Regions from separate parts of the Homo sapiens genome. Here region 1 is linked to region 2. Evidence: promoter capture Hi-C in human tissues and cell types (Jung and others, 2019). All regions are on one chromosome and are shown on one strand. The core of a region is centred on a gene start or on the middle of the fragment in contact, and the rest is flanking DNA. Distances in the headings are between cores, read along the strand shown. Region 1 overlaps SIPA1L3 (signal induced proliferation associated 1 like 3). Region 2 holds the start of KCNK6 (potassium two pore domain channel subfamily K member 6).

Evidence for each region. The method cuts DNA at HindIII sites, captures the fragments that hold promoters and counts their contacts. A contact is called where the count stands out against the background at its distance.
Region 1: a fragment that was not itself captured here is called in contact with the fragment with the promoter of KCNK6 in region 2 in 2 of the 25 tissues and cell types used here (bladder and dorsolateral prefrontal cortex).

Annotation. Positions count from the first base shown.
Region 1 is chr19:38,138,965-38,145,767 of GRCh38, forward strand. It overlaps SIPA1L3 (signal induced proliferation associated 1 like 3), which reads left to right. Exons shown (of 22, transcript NM_015073.3): 11 at 2,220-2,471; 12 at 3,609-3,746. Among named protein-coding and RNA genes, the nearest start is that of SNORD152, 21 kb to the right of the region's middle. RefSeq lists an enhancer at 4,567-5,416. The HindIII fragment of the contact is 6,489 bases long and covers 1,457-6,803 here.
Region 2 is chr19:38,318,494-38,324,812 of GRCh38, forward strand. KCNK6 (potassium two pore domain channel subfamily K member 6) reads left to right here and starts at 1,352. Exons shown (of 3, transcript NM_004823.3): 1 at 1,352-1,779. The coding sequence starts at 1,458. It also overlaps a transcript of YIF1B not described here. RefSeq lists an enhancer at 1,180-1,803 and a silencer at 1,445-1,534. The HindIII fragment of the contact is 11,421 bases long and covers 1-6,319 here.

The DNA of each region.
Region 1 (6,803 bases), core at 3,451-5,950, 180 kb before region 2:
GAGGACAGATTACTTGAGGTCAGGCATTCAAGACCAGCCTGGGCAACATGGTGAAATGCCATCTCTACTAAAAATACAAAAATTAGCTAGGTGTGGTGGCACACACCTGTAGTCCTAGCTACTCAGGAGGCTAAGGCGCGAGAATCGCTGAAACCTGGGAGGTGGAGGTTGCAGTGAGCCGAGATCTCACCATTGCACTCCAGCCTGGGTGACAGAGCAAGACTCCATCTCAAAAAAAACAAACAACTGATGCTCGTTATCTCTCGTTGGCCCTGCTTAGAGCACATGACAATTCTGTGCTAGTCATCGTGTCAGGGTGGGTGCTTGGAGAAAGCTTCTAATTGGTCAGGCCTGGGTCACATGCTAATACCTGGAGCCAGGAAGTGGGGTCAGCCCCACCCAGAGCCCATATTAACAAAGACCTGTTATCAGGAGAGGGGGTGTGGGGAGAGACACCAGGCAGGCAGGAATGGCAGGTGTGCACTGCCTGGAGACAGTGATAGTACCTTTCCCCACCTCTGCCCGGGCCTGGCATGTCTACAGGCTCTGATAGACGTTCATATTGTTATTGTTCCTCACCTGGTGCCTGGTGAGACATTGGCAGCTGCCAGTCCAAAGGGACAGCCAGAAGACACTGCCAAGTGTCAGTTCCAGCCATGGCGCTACCGAGGGGTGCGGTGTGTCGGGCCCTGGGTGCCAGAGCGCATCCACCTCTGTCTTAGTCTGTTTTGTGCTGCTATGACAGAATATATGAGATCGGATAATGGATAAAGAACAGACATACATTTCTCACAGTTGTGGGGGCTGCAGGTTCAAGATCCAGGCACTGGCAGGATAGGGCCTGGTCTTTCTACTTCCATGATGGGGCCTTGAATGCTGTGACCTCTGGAGGACAGGAACGCCACGTCCAAATACAGCAGAAGAGAAGAAGAGAGAGAGTCCACTCCCGCAAGCCCTTTCTATAGTGGCATTCATCCATTCATGAGGGCTCTGCCCTAAGCTCCTCCCACTAGTCCCCACCTCCCAACAGTGGCATTGGGGGTTAAGTTTCCAACACGTGACTTTTGGGGGAACACACATCCAGACCATAGCAGCCTCTGAACCACCATATCCACCAGATCTTTTGCTGGGTGGCCATGAACGGGGTGGCTCCAGGGAATTCAGGAGACACTCAGAGGATCAGCTCGATGGGGGTATGGGCACTTCCAGGCTGAAGGCTCCTCTGAGCTCAGCTCTCAGCTGCCAGGAGGTGGATTTCATGAGCATGGCTCGGGGACCCCTCCCATGCAGGGCTGCAGTGGCAGTGGAGAATGCCAGCCCAGCCGGCGGATCTCCCCGCCTCAAGCCAGGAGCACCATGGTGCATGTGCCAGCCTGGTCTAGGGGGAGTCACAGGTCTCTCTGCATCTATTTCAAGGTTGTAGATTTCATGGCTTTTTTTTTTTTTTTTAACCACCCCACAAAGTAGGTCACCTGCTCCTCTTCCAGCTGCCTTTAAGATTCTTTGGAACAAGGCAGTTACTGTCCTTTGATTCTGAGGACATCCGCCTTTCTGGCCCTGAGTACCGCTAAGGGGGGCCAGGCAGGTCTGTCGAGGACACTGGCGGCCTGGCAGCCGTGTGGCCTGGGTCAGGTAGAAGCGAGGGGCGGGAACAGAGAATTCGAGTGGGAGGAGGGAAGAGGAGATGAGGTGGAAAGGGCCAGGCAGTCGGAGTCCCTGTGTTGGGTCCCGTCCTGGTTGAAGACTCTGAGCTGGTAAGTTTCAGACCATTTTAAGGAGTATTCACTCGACTTTTAAAATAGGCCATCCCCAGCCGGGCGCGGTGGCTCACTCCTATAATCCCAGCATTTTGGGAGGCTGAGGCGGGTGGATAACCTGAGGTCAGGAGTTCGAGACCAGCCTGGCCAACATGGTGAAACTCTTTCTCTACTAAAAATACAAAACTTAGCCGGGCGTAGTGGCGCTTGCCTGTAGTCCCAGCTACTCAGGAGGCTGAGGCACGAGAATCGCTTGAACCCAGGAGGCAGAGGTTGCAGTGAGCCAACATCATGCCGCTGTACTCCAGCCTGGGCGACAAAGCAAGACTCTGTCTCAAAAAAAAAAAAAAAAAAAAAAAAAGCCATCCCGGTTTATATTGGGCCAGGAAAACCCAGCCTAGACAGCAGGCCCACGTGTTGGTGGGCTGGGGCCTTTCTGAGTAATGCAGTTTTTCTCCCCAGGGGTTGGCCGGAGACCTACGACATGAATACCTCGGAGCCCAAGACGGAGCAGGAAAGCATCACTCCTGGGGGCCGGCCCCCCTACCGCAGCAATGCTCCCTGGCAGTGGAGCGGGCCCGCATCCCATAACTCTCTACCAGCCTCCAAGTGGGCCACTCCAACCACTCCCGGCCATGCCCAGTCCCTGAGCCGGCCCCTGAAGCAGACCCCCATAGTCCCCTTCCGGGAGTCCCAGCCACTGCACAGCAAGAGGTAAGCACCTGCTGGGGGGACCAATACTTCCCAACCCCCACCAGCCCACACCCATCCTCCGCCCCTCCCTCTCCTCACTATTTCCTCCATCCTCTTCCTCGCCTCAAGCTTTCGACCTTCCTTCTTATCCTTATGTCTCCCTTGTTCCTCCCTCCCTCCTTCGTTTCAGCTTTCACCGTTGGCCTCTTGTCTGGGGACCCAGTGCTGGGGAGCTCTGGGTTAGAAATCCATTATACTAAGTAGACGACTGAAGCTCTGCTTTTTAGGCTGGGCACGGTGGCTCACGCCTGTAATCCCAACATTTTGGGAGGTCAAGGCAGGAGCATTGCTTGAGGCCAGGAGTTAGAGAGCTTGGGCAACATAGCAGAACCCTGGCTCTATAAAAAACATTTATTAAAAATTAGCCAGGTGTGATGCACACCTGTGGTCCCAGCTGCCCAAGAGGCTGAGGTGGGAGGATGGCTTGAGCCCAGAAGTTGGAGGCTGCAGTGAGCTGTGATTGCACCACTGCACTCCAGACTGAGCAATACCTTATCTCTGAAAAATAAAATAAAATAAAACTGTTATTTTTAAGGTGAAGGGACTGATAAGCACAAAATTTAGGACAGTGACTTCTTCCTGGAGGAGGCAGGGAAATGGGAAGTGGGGAAGCCCACAGGTAGATGTTAGCACCACCGTTCTAGTCCTGGGGTTGGCTGGTAGCTTCAGGGAGTTTGTTTTATGATGATGACAAATATAACTTAACAGATACTCTTTTGAAGATATTATATATTAAAAGATAAAAAGAAAATTTTCCAAAAAATGAAGGAATCCAACTTGCAGAGGGACATCTTGTCCCCAGGGGGCAGAGGCGAGAATGGTCTTGAGCAGCCTGCAGAAGCTGTGAGTTGCGGGCAGCCGCAGTGGATCCGGGAAGAGGGGGCCCAGGAGCATCCCAGCTTCTCTCGCCCTGTGCTCAGCATCCTCCCCTTCATCCTGAGCAGTGAATAGCAGAAGGGATGTGGCTGGGCGGGGGAAAGTTCGGTTGGTCTGTCTGTCTGTCCGTCTGTCCATCCATCTGTCTGTCCGTCCATCCTCCCAGGGCAGGGGTACCCTCCTACTCACCCTCTGCCTCCTTCCTCCCCTGTCTCCTTCTAGGCCTGTCAGCTTCCCAGAAACCCCTTACACAGTATCACCAGCAGGGGCCGACAGAGTCCCTCCCTACCGACAGCCTTCTGGGAGCTTCTCCACCCCCGGTTCGGCCACCTACGTGAGATACAAGCCATCCCCAGAAAGGTCAGCCTCCCTCAATTCTTTTCATGTTAAGGGATCTGATGAAAGCTGTGCCTCCTTCTTCCCCAGCAAATGCACACCCCCACAATTCTAGTTGCCATTTTATGGTGTTTCTGGACCCCTGAAGGTCCTCAGAGGAGCCCCATGGGGTGGTTATGTCTCAAGTTTTGGAGCAAAACTGGGCCGGGCTGGGCAGGACCCATCGTTGGCTTTCCTTGCAGCAGAATTTTGATTGCTGTTCTCTTGACACCTGTCAAGCAAGAGCATCCACTATCCAGCACGGCCATGCATCTAACTCTCTCCAGCCCTAAGCCCCTAGGACCAGGCTGCCAGCATTACCCAGTTTTCGAGATCTTTCAGGATTCAGTTCTGCCCACTTGCGTCCATCTGCAACCTGGCAGCCTGAGAGATCTCCCCAAACCCTCCATGGCTCCCCACCAGCCTGAGAGATCTCCCCAAACCCTCCATGGCTCCCCAGTGCCCTCAGGATAAACTTGGCATTCAAGGCCCTTCAGGCTCTGGCTCCGGCTGAGCTTATTCCCCAGCTGCCTTCAGCCCTCGTGCCCTCTGTTCTTCCTCTGCCCCCAGGTCCCTGTCTCAGGGGCAGCCACATCAATCCTAGTCCTTGGGCCTGAGCTGTGGCCCTCATCCTGTGAATGTCCCCTTCCTCCTCCTCCTTGCAGTGGTCCTCCTCCTGAGCATCTCTGTCACCCACCCTCTCCTCCTTTCCCTGTTCTCTTGCCCAGGCCACCACAGTGGGCTTCCAGCCTTCATCTCACCTCCCCTGGTCTACCCTCCACTCAACACTCAACAGCCAGAGGGATCTTTCTGTGTCTTTTTTTTTTTTTTTTTTTTTTGAGACCACTCTGTCGCCAGACTGGAGTGCAGTGGCGCAATCTCAGCTCACTGCAACCTCCACCTCCCGGGTTCAAGTGATTCTCCTGCCTCAGCCTCCCAAGTAGCTGGGACTACAGGCTCTCGCCACCACGCCCAGCTAATTTTTGTATTTTTAGTAGAGACGGATTTTCACCATGCTGGCCAGACTGGTCTCAAACTCCTGGCCTCAAGCGATCCGCCTGCCTCAGCTTCCCAAAGTGCTGGGATTACAAGTGTGAGCCCGTGCACCTGGCCAGATCTTTCTATACCTGAACATGCCTGTCCCCTGCTCCAAACCCTCCCACCACTCCCAGAGCCCTCAGGACACAGCTTTGGCCCCTCCCTGTGGCCACCAGGGCCCCTGCGAGTCTCGTGCAGTGCCACACTTTAGCCACACTGGCCACTCCCAGCTTCCTAGGGGGACTGTCTGTATTTCAGAGCCTTGATGGTGTTCCTTCCTTGGCCTGAATATGCTTCACACTCCTCGCCCACACTCCCCCCATCCTACCAACTCAAGCTTCTGTGCCCCTCTCCAGAACCCTTCTCTGGAGCTCCCTCTTGAGGCAAGGCACTGCCCCCCAATTCCTGTGTATTTCCTGACTGTGGCCTTGAGCACTCTTCATCCTTATTAGCCAGCTAAGAGTGTGTGTGCTTGCGCACGTGCATGTATGTGCACCTGTAAGAGAGCGAGAGAGAGACAGAGAGGGTAAGCGTGCTCTTCAAGACCTCCCATCACATAGTACACAGTCCGACACATGGCTGATCTTTGGTATATATTGGATGAAAGGATGGAGTGAGTGGGTTTGTTAAAATGAAACCACCTGCCTTAAGACCAGGGATCAGGCCACCAAACCAGTGGTTCTCAATCTTTAGCAGGCATTGGAATCACCCAGAGGAGGACTTGTTAAAATACAGATTATTGGGCCTGAGCCCCAAATTTCTGACCTGGTAGGTTCGGGGTGCTGCACCAGGGACCATTCTCTGAGAGTCACCACAGTCATCCATTGTTAGATTCTAAGCCTCTTGTTCAATTGGAGAAACACGCCCACTGTTTCTTCTTCTAGTAGCCACCATTCAGCTTTCATTCAGCAAAGGGTCTCAAGAGCTTTCTGGCGTGCCAGGAGGAGTATTTGAGATACTCAATTACGAGGGGGTTCTGTAGTCAGCCCTTGCTGACTGTGATGGAGAGGATCGTAAAAACCATGTGCACTCTGATGAGCACTCTAATAGAGGAAGAGGGAACACAGCCCAGCACTGGAGGTCTAGACTGGCTGCCTGGAGGAGGTGACATCTGAACAGAAGTTTGAGGGACTAATAGGAGTCTGCGACAGAGAGGAGAGAAAAAGTCATTCCAAACAGAGTAAAGGCCACAGATATGAACAAGCAGGATGCTGTGAAACACAGGAGAATCAGAGAGGAATCGGGTGTGTGCGGGACATGGGGTGTGGGGGCACCCAGGTGACAGCAGGGGCTGAGGTTGGAAATGGCAGTCAGAGTGACTCACCAGTAACAAAGGTGGTGGCAGTGGTGTTACCGAAAGCTCTTGGGAACTGTTGTTGTTGTTGTTGTTTTCTCCTAAAGTCTTGGTATCTGCCTTTATTATTTTAACTTTTTATTTTGTAATAATTACTGAGTCACAGGAAGTTGCCAAAAAAAACATACAGGTGGCCGGGCACAGTGGTTCACGCCTGTAATCCCTGCACTTTGGGAGGCCGAGATCGGTGGATCATCTGAGGTCAGGAGTTCGAGACCAGCCTGGCCAACATGATGAAACCCCGTCTCTACTGAAAATACAAAAAATTAGCTGGGTGTGGTGGCACGCGCCTGTAATCCCAGCTACTCAGGAGGCTGAAGCGAGAGAATCGTTTGAACCTGGTAGGTGCAGGTTGCAGTGAGCCAAGACTGTGGCACTGCACTCCAGCCTGGGCAACAGGAGCAAAAACTCCGTCTCAAAAAAAAAAAAAAAAAAAAGAATACAGGGAGGTCTTGTGAACCTGAACCCTTCACGCAGCCTCCCCTATTGTTAACATCTTGTATGGTTATAACGCAATATCAAAGCAAGAGGTTGACATGGGTACAGGCCTACAGCTTATTCAAAATTCACCAGTTATACATGCACTCATTTGTGTGTGTGTGTCTGTAGCTCTGTGCAATTTTATCACATGTGAAGTGTTGTGTAACCAT
Region 2 (6,319 bases), core at 102-2,601:
AGCTGGTCTCAAATGACTACTTCATTTTTAAGCCTAAATTTTCTCATCTGTTTAGTGGGAATTATATTGGGACGGGGTTGAGAATTCAGTGCAAGTTCAGGTGTCCACAGGGCCTGGCAGAATGTAAGCCTTCGATCACTGGCACCTATTGTGTTACTGATTCTATTATCAGGTGCCTCTGCTTCTGGATTGTCAACCCCAAGTTGGGCTCTGCCCGGTGATCTGCCAGCTCTTTAATAGAACCAGCTGGGACATGTCTGAGCTGAGCCCCAAGCCCCACTCCTCTGCCAGTCGGATGGGGTTAGGACTCTGGGCTGCCCTCCAAAAGGCTGTCAGGAAGGCGCTGAGTTCTGGCTGGAGGCAGAAGTGGAGAGACTTACGGGGGGGCGCAGAAAGAAAAATTTCCTCTTAAATAGAGGCGTGTATTTGTGATTCTGCCTGGCTTGTTTCCATTCATCCTTCATGCTTCAGCTCAGCTAGCCCCTTCCTCAGGAAGCTCTCTTGACCTCCCTAGGCAGGGGTGGTTGCTTCCTCTGGACTCCCAGGGCCCTCTAGGGCTCCCTGATTCCAGGCTTGATCATTGTACCCTTGCTTCCCTCATCACAGCCCTGACCACTCTGGGCTGTCTTTTTTCTTTTTTTTAGAGATAGGGTCTCACTCTCTCCCAGGCATAGCTCACTGCAGCCTCGAACTCCTGGGCTCAAGCAATCCTCCGACCTCAGCCTCCCGAGTAGCTGGGACAACAGGCGTGGGTCACTCTTGTGTCAGTCTCCCAGTTAGACTGGGAGCCCCATGAATGCATGGCGCAGGATGGTCTCATCATTACTGAGTCTCCAGGATCATCCAGCGAGGGGTCAGCAGAAAGTGGGCATTGAACAAAGCTTTGGTGAGTAGCTGAGGATCCCCACTCTGTCCACACGGGCACAGGGGACACCTGACTCTGTGGTGTCCGCTGTTCCCACTCCGAGGCTCACAACTTGGCGAATGGAGCGAGAATTGGATTTCAGTTTGCCCCTTGCTCCGTCAGCCGCGCGCCCTGATGCAGTGCACAACCTTAGCTGCTGTGCGCGATGGGGGGCGACTCCTCGGCCTGCGAGCAGAGAGGAAAGTTCAGATTCTTCTAACATAGAGAACCAGCCTTCCAGGAGGACGAGAAGGAAGGAATGAGGGGAAGAGAGGACTACCTCCACCCTTTCCATCCCGTTGGTCTGCTGGGTCTGGGAGCACTGGGCTCCACCCTCTCCGAACGAACACCTGGCGGTTGGGCGTGCCTCAGTTTCCCGGAGGCGGGGCATTCCTCCGTCGCCGCCCCCCACCTCCCCTTTTTCCTCTTCCTCTTGGGGCATCTGCTGCCGCGCCTGTAGCACTCCCGGAACTGGAACTAGGTGCCAGACGGTCCGGAGGCGGGGGCCACGTCAGCGGGGCCACCCAGGGCTCGCGGGGTCCCGGTGGGTGCCATGCGGAGGGGCGCGCTTCTGGCGGGCGCCTTGGCCGCGTACGCCGCGTACCTGGTGCTGGGCGCGCTGTTGGTGGCGCGGCTGGAGGGGCCGCACGAAGCCAGGCTCCGAGCCGAGCTGGAGACGCTGCGGGCGCAGCTGCTTCAGCGCAGCCCGTGTGTGGCTGCCCCCGCCCTGGACGCCTTCGTGGAGCGAGTGCTGGCGGCCGGACGGCTGGGGCGGGTCGTGCTTGCTAACGCTTCGGGGTCCGCCAACGCCTCGGACCCCGCCTGGGACTTCGCCTCTGCTCTCTTCTTCGCCAGCACGCTGATCACCACCGTGGGTACGTAAGCGCCTCACCGCAAGGCGGCGAGGACCCGGGATCCCCACTTCATCCTTAACCCCTGGGGACCCCGGGGCCCTCACGAATACCCTTATCCCAATCCCCTCTGGGCTTCGGATCCCCCGAAAAGACCCCAGTGAGGACCCGGGACCCAGGCTCATGATATCTGCTCTGCTCGGGGAGCCCAAGTCCGAGCCCTTCCTCCTAAGTAGGAAACACCCAGCTCCCCTCAGAGTACCTTTGCAGAGACCAGCTGGGACCCCGTTCCTCGGTCTTTTTTTTTTTTCTTTTCTTTTTCTTTTTTTGAGACAGGGCTTACTCTGTCGCCCAGGCTGGAGTGCAGTGGCACGATCTCGGATCACGGCAGCCTCCGCCTCCCGGTTTCAAGCTATTCTCCTGCTTCAGCCTGCCGAGTAGCTGGGATTACAGGCACATACCACCATGCCTGGCTAATTTTTGTATTTTCAGTGGAGACGGAGTTTCACCATGTTGGCCAGGCTGGTCCCAAACTCCTGACTTCAGGTGATCAGCCCGCCTCGCCCTCCCAAATTGCTGGCATTACAGGCTTGAGCCACTGCACTGGGACTGCATTCCCCGGTCTTAATCCTCTTGGTGACCCGGGTCTGTCCAGCCCCCTCTAAGCCTAGGACTGTCCTCAGAGACCTCCAGCAAGGACCCAGGACACGCCACCCTCCAAGGGAGATCCTTGCCCCCTCTGGACCCAGAACTCAACCATGCCAGGACCCCTGACTTTATCTCTAGTCTGGGCCTGCCACCCTTGCCATGTCTCCTGACCCTCCAGATATGTCCTTCTGGGAAACCCCCCTGGAGAAACCCCATCTCAACCTCCTCCTGACCCTGGCGCCTTAGCGAGGACCCTAAATCTCCAGACCTCTCAGGGTGTCCTCACTAAAGACCTCCCTCCCAACAGAGATTCCTCAGCAAGGACCTGGCACCGCCATCTGGGACTCCTGGCCCTCTGGACCTGGGCCTCTGCTCCAGACTGTCATCTGTCTCCTGGCCCCATACTCCCCAGCAGGCAACTCTGACCCCAGACACAAAACCCTTCCCTAGGTACCCCACCCCATCTTGACATCTCCCCTATATGGGGTCACTCTCAATGCAGGATTTTCCTCCCAATAGGGACACCACCTGTTCCCTCTGGACCTGGGACTCCCAATTCAGCAGCCCCAGCTAGGGATGTGTCAAAAGGACCCACCGTGGAGGGACCCCGAGTTTTGGGAAACCCTGAGAAGCCAGACTTGGGAAATCTCTTTGTTGCCAGGCTCTGCTGCTCCCCCAGCCCCTTCTCAGCTCCCAGACTTCCTCTTTGTTTCTTTGTTGGGGATTTGTTGAGGAGAGGAGGCTGGTGCAGGGTTAGCCCAGACTCCTAACTCGCCCTCCCGGCCAACAATAGGGGGCAGCTTTTGCTTTTGGTCCCCTGGCAGCAGAGCTGGGTGACTTCTCGTTAGCTGACCTCCCCTGGGTCTGCCCATGCTGCCAGGGCGGCCTGACCTGCTTCTGAGCTTCCCTGGGTCATGTGCACGCCTCCTACCTCTTCCCAGATCCTGGCTTCTAAGAAGTCATCCCTGGCAGGGCAGATGAGGGAAGCCAGACACACGTCAGGCACAGCCTGGCTACATCCCTGCTCAGCCGCGGCTCATTGCCAGGCCTCAGTGTCCTCCCCCATTGCTAAAATGGAGATAATAACACTCCCCATTTCCCTGTAATAGCAGTAGCCTGACAGAGGACTTGCCAATGCATGCTTTAACTCACTTAATCATCACAACAGCCTTGTGAGGCAGGCGCCTTTATAGGCTGTATATTTTTAGCCATGGAAACCGAAGCCTAGAGAAGTTGGGTAACTTTCCTAAGGTCACACAGCAAAGACGGCATAGAGTAGAGATTTAGTCAAGGCCATCAGGCTCTAGAGTCCCATGCTGCTAGCCAACACACCACACTACTTAGAAGAAGGGTGCTGTGTGTGTTGTAAAAGAAAAAAATATGCTAACACTTGTTAAAAATGGAAAGTTATTGTGGTAGAGGAGAGACCATTGCAAAGGCCAGAGAGACTGAACTCAACTGTGAATATAGCAAACACAGCTGGAGTTTTATGGCTAACAAGTAGAATAAGGGAGTCAGTGGATGGAAGAATACTAAGAGGAGAGACATTCGGGTAGGGGGATTCTTGCTAAACTCAGCTTAACAAGATTCTTGCTAAAGACAGGCCAAGGACTTAGATATTGAGAGGGGGTGGATGAGGGCCAGGCGCAGTGGCTTACGCCTATAATCCCAGCACTTTGGAGGGCCGAGGTGGGCAGATCACCTGAGGTTAGGAGTTCGAGACCAGCCTGACCAACATGGTGAAACCCCGTCTACTAAAAATACAAAAATCAACCGAGCATTGTGGCAGGCACCTGTAATTCCAGCTACTCGGGAGGCTGAGGCAGGAGAATCACTTGAACCTGGGAGGCAGAGGTTGCAATAAGCTGAGATTGTGCCACTGCACTCCAGCCAGGGCAACAGAGTGAGACTCCATCTCAAAAAAACAAAAAACAGGCCGGGCAAGTTGGCTCACGCCTGGAATCCCAGCACTTTGGGAGGCTGAGGCGGGCGGATCACCTGAGGTTAGGAGTTCGAGACCAGCCTGGCCAACATGACGAAACCCCATCTCTACTAAAAATACAAAAATTAGCCAGGCATGATAGTGCGTGGCTGTAATCCCAGCTACTTGGGAGGCTGAGGCAGGAGGATCACTTGAACCTGGGAGGCGGAGGTTGCAGTGAGCCGAGATCTCGCCCCTGCACTCCAGGCTGGGCGTTAGAGCAAGACTCTGTCTCAAAACAAACAAACAAAAAAGAGTGGTGGATGAGGAATTTGATCAGATATCGGGGTGGGTGGCTTGTAGGATTCTTGCTAAAACTGGGCCTACTTAAGGACTCAGGAGTCAGACTGAAGTGCGGTCAAGGAGGGAGTCTTTGTCCGTGCGAAGCGCTGGTAATAACTGATGTTTATTGAGTTAATGTTGACTGTTTTCATAGTGGGTGAAGCCTTGAATGCATCTGGAGAAGTGGAAAACCAATTAAACGTGATTCAGAGAGACCTCTTCCCACAATGCCCCTCGTTTGGTCATAGGCCCAAATCTTGGCCCTGGAATTGATCTGGGCAGCCTTGCTGCACTTGAGGCAGGAGGAAGCGGGTAGTCCTACCCGGAACTGGGAATCGGAGAGAGGAAGTGAGCATTACAATCCTTGTAACTCTTTCCACGCTCTTGCTAGGCACTATGCCCTATCCCAGCCTAGTAGGATTACTACCACATTTGAGGAAGGGATTGTTTTTTGTTTTTCAGACAGGGTCTTGCTCTGTCACCCAGGCTAGAGTGCAGTGGCGCAGCCTTGACCTCCTGGGCTTAAGTGATCCTCCCACCTCAGCCTCCTGAGTAGTTGGAACCACACGTGCACGCCACTGCACCCAGCTAATTTTTTTATTTTTTATTTTTTGTAGAAGGTGGTCTCCCTATGTTGCTCAGGCTGGTCTCAAACTACTCCTAGGCTCAAGCGGTTCTCCTGCCTTGGCCTCCCAAAGTGCTGGAATTACAGGTGTGAGCCACCTTGCCTGGCCAGGAAGGGATTGCTTACGAGCCCATTTTTGCAGAGAGGGAACTGAGCCTCAGAGGGGAGAAGTCATCTGGCCAAAGTCATGCAGGGAGTAAATGGCAAAACACTGTTTTGGACTCTTCTCTTTGAAATAGTAACTTGAGGCTCACAGGCCCCATGCTTTTCAAACTCTATGATTTGTCTATTTATAAAGATCTCTTTTATTATTATTATTTTTTTTTACAGAGATAGGGTCTTGCTATGTTACCCAGGCTGGTGTCAAACTCCTGGGCTCAAGTAATCCTCCCACTTTGGCCTCCCAAAGTGCTGGGATTATAGGAATGAGCCACCTCACCCAGCCTGTTTATAAGGATTTCATGTCATTTGCAAACCTGCCAGGCTGCTGGAGTTTCCCCATCAAAAACCCTTGTATTAATGAGGGTTGGGGGTCATAAGTGATACACCTCAAATTACAGTTGCTTAAATAAGAAGTGTATTTCTTGTTCACATTCCAGGTAGTCAGTCCAAGTCGTACTGCATGGTCAGAGACCTAGGCTCCTTCTCAGCAAAACCCTGGTGTTCCTGCCTAACTCCTCTGCGCAACTTCCATTCCCAAGGTCGCCTAATGGTCCAAGATGGCTGTGTAGCTCCAGCCTCCATGTCTGTGCTCCAGCCAGCAAGAGGAGGGAGGAAAGAAGGGAGACTGGCATCCCTCGCTCCTTAAGGACCCTTCCTGGAAGTTGCCTGACTCTTTCATGAATACCTCATTGGCCAGAGATTAGTCACAGAACCACACCTGGCTCTGCAAGGGAGGAGGGAACGTCCTGATTCCAAAAGGCCATGTATCCAGCTAAAACCCAGGGGGAGCCTTTTAAAATTATTATTATTGTTATTATTTTTTAAAGTAGAGATAGGGTCTTCCTATGTTACCCAGGCTGGTCTCA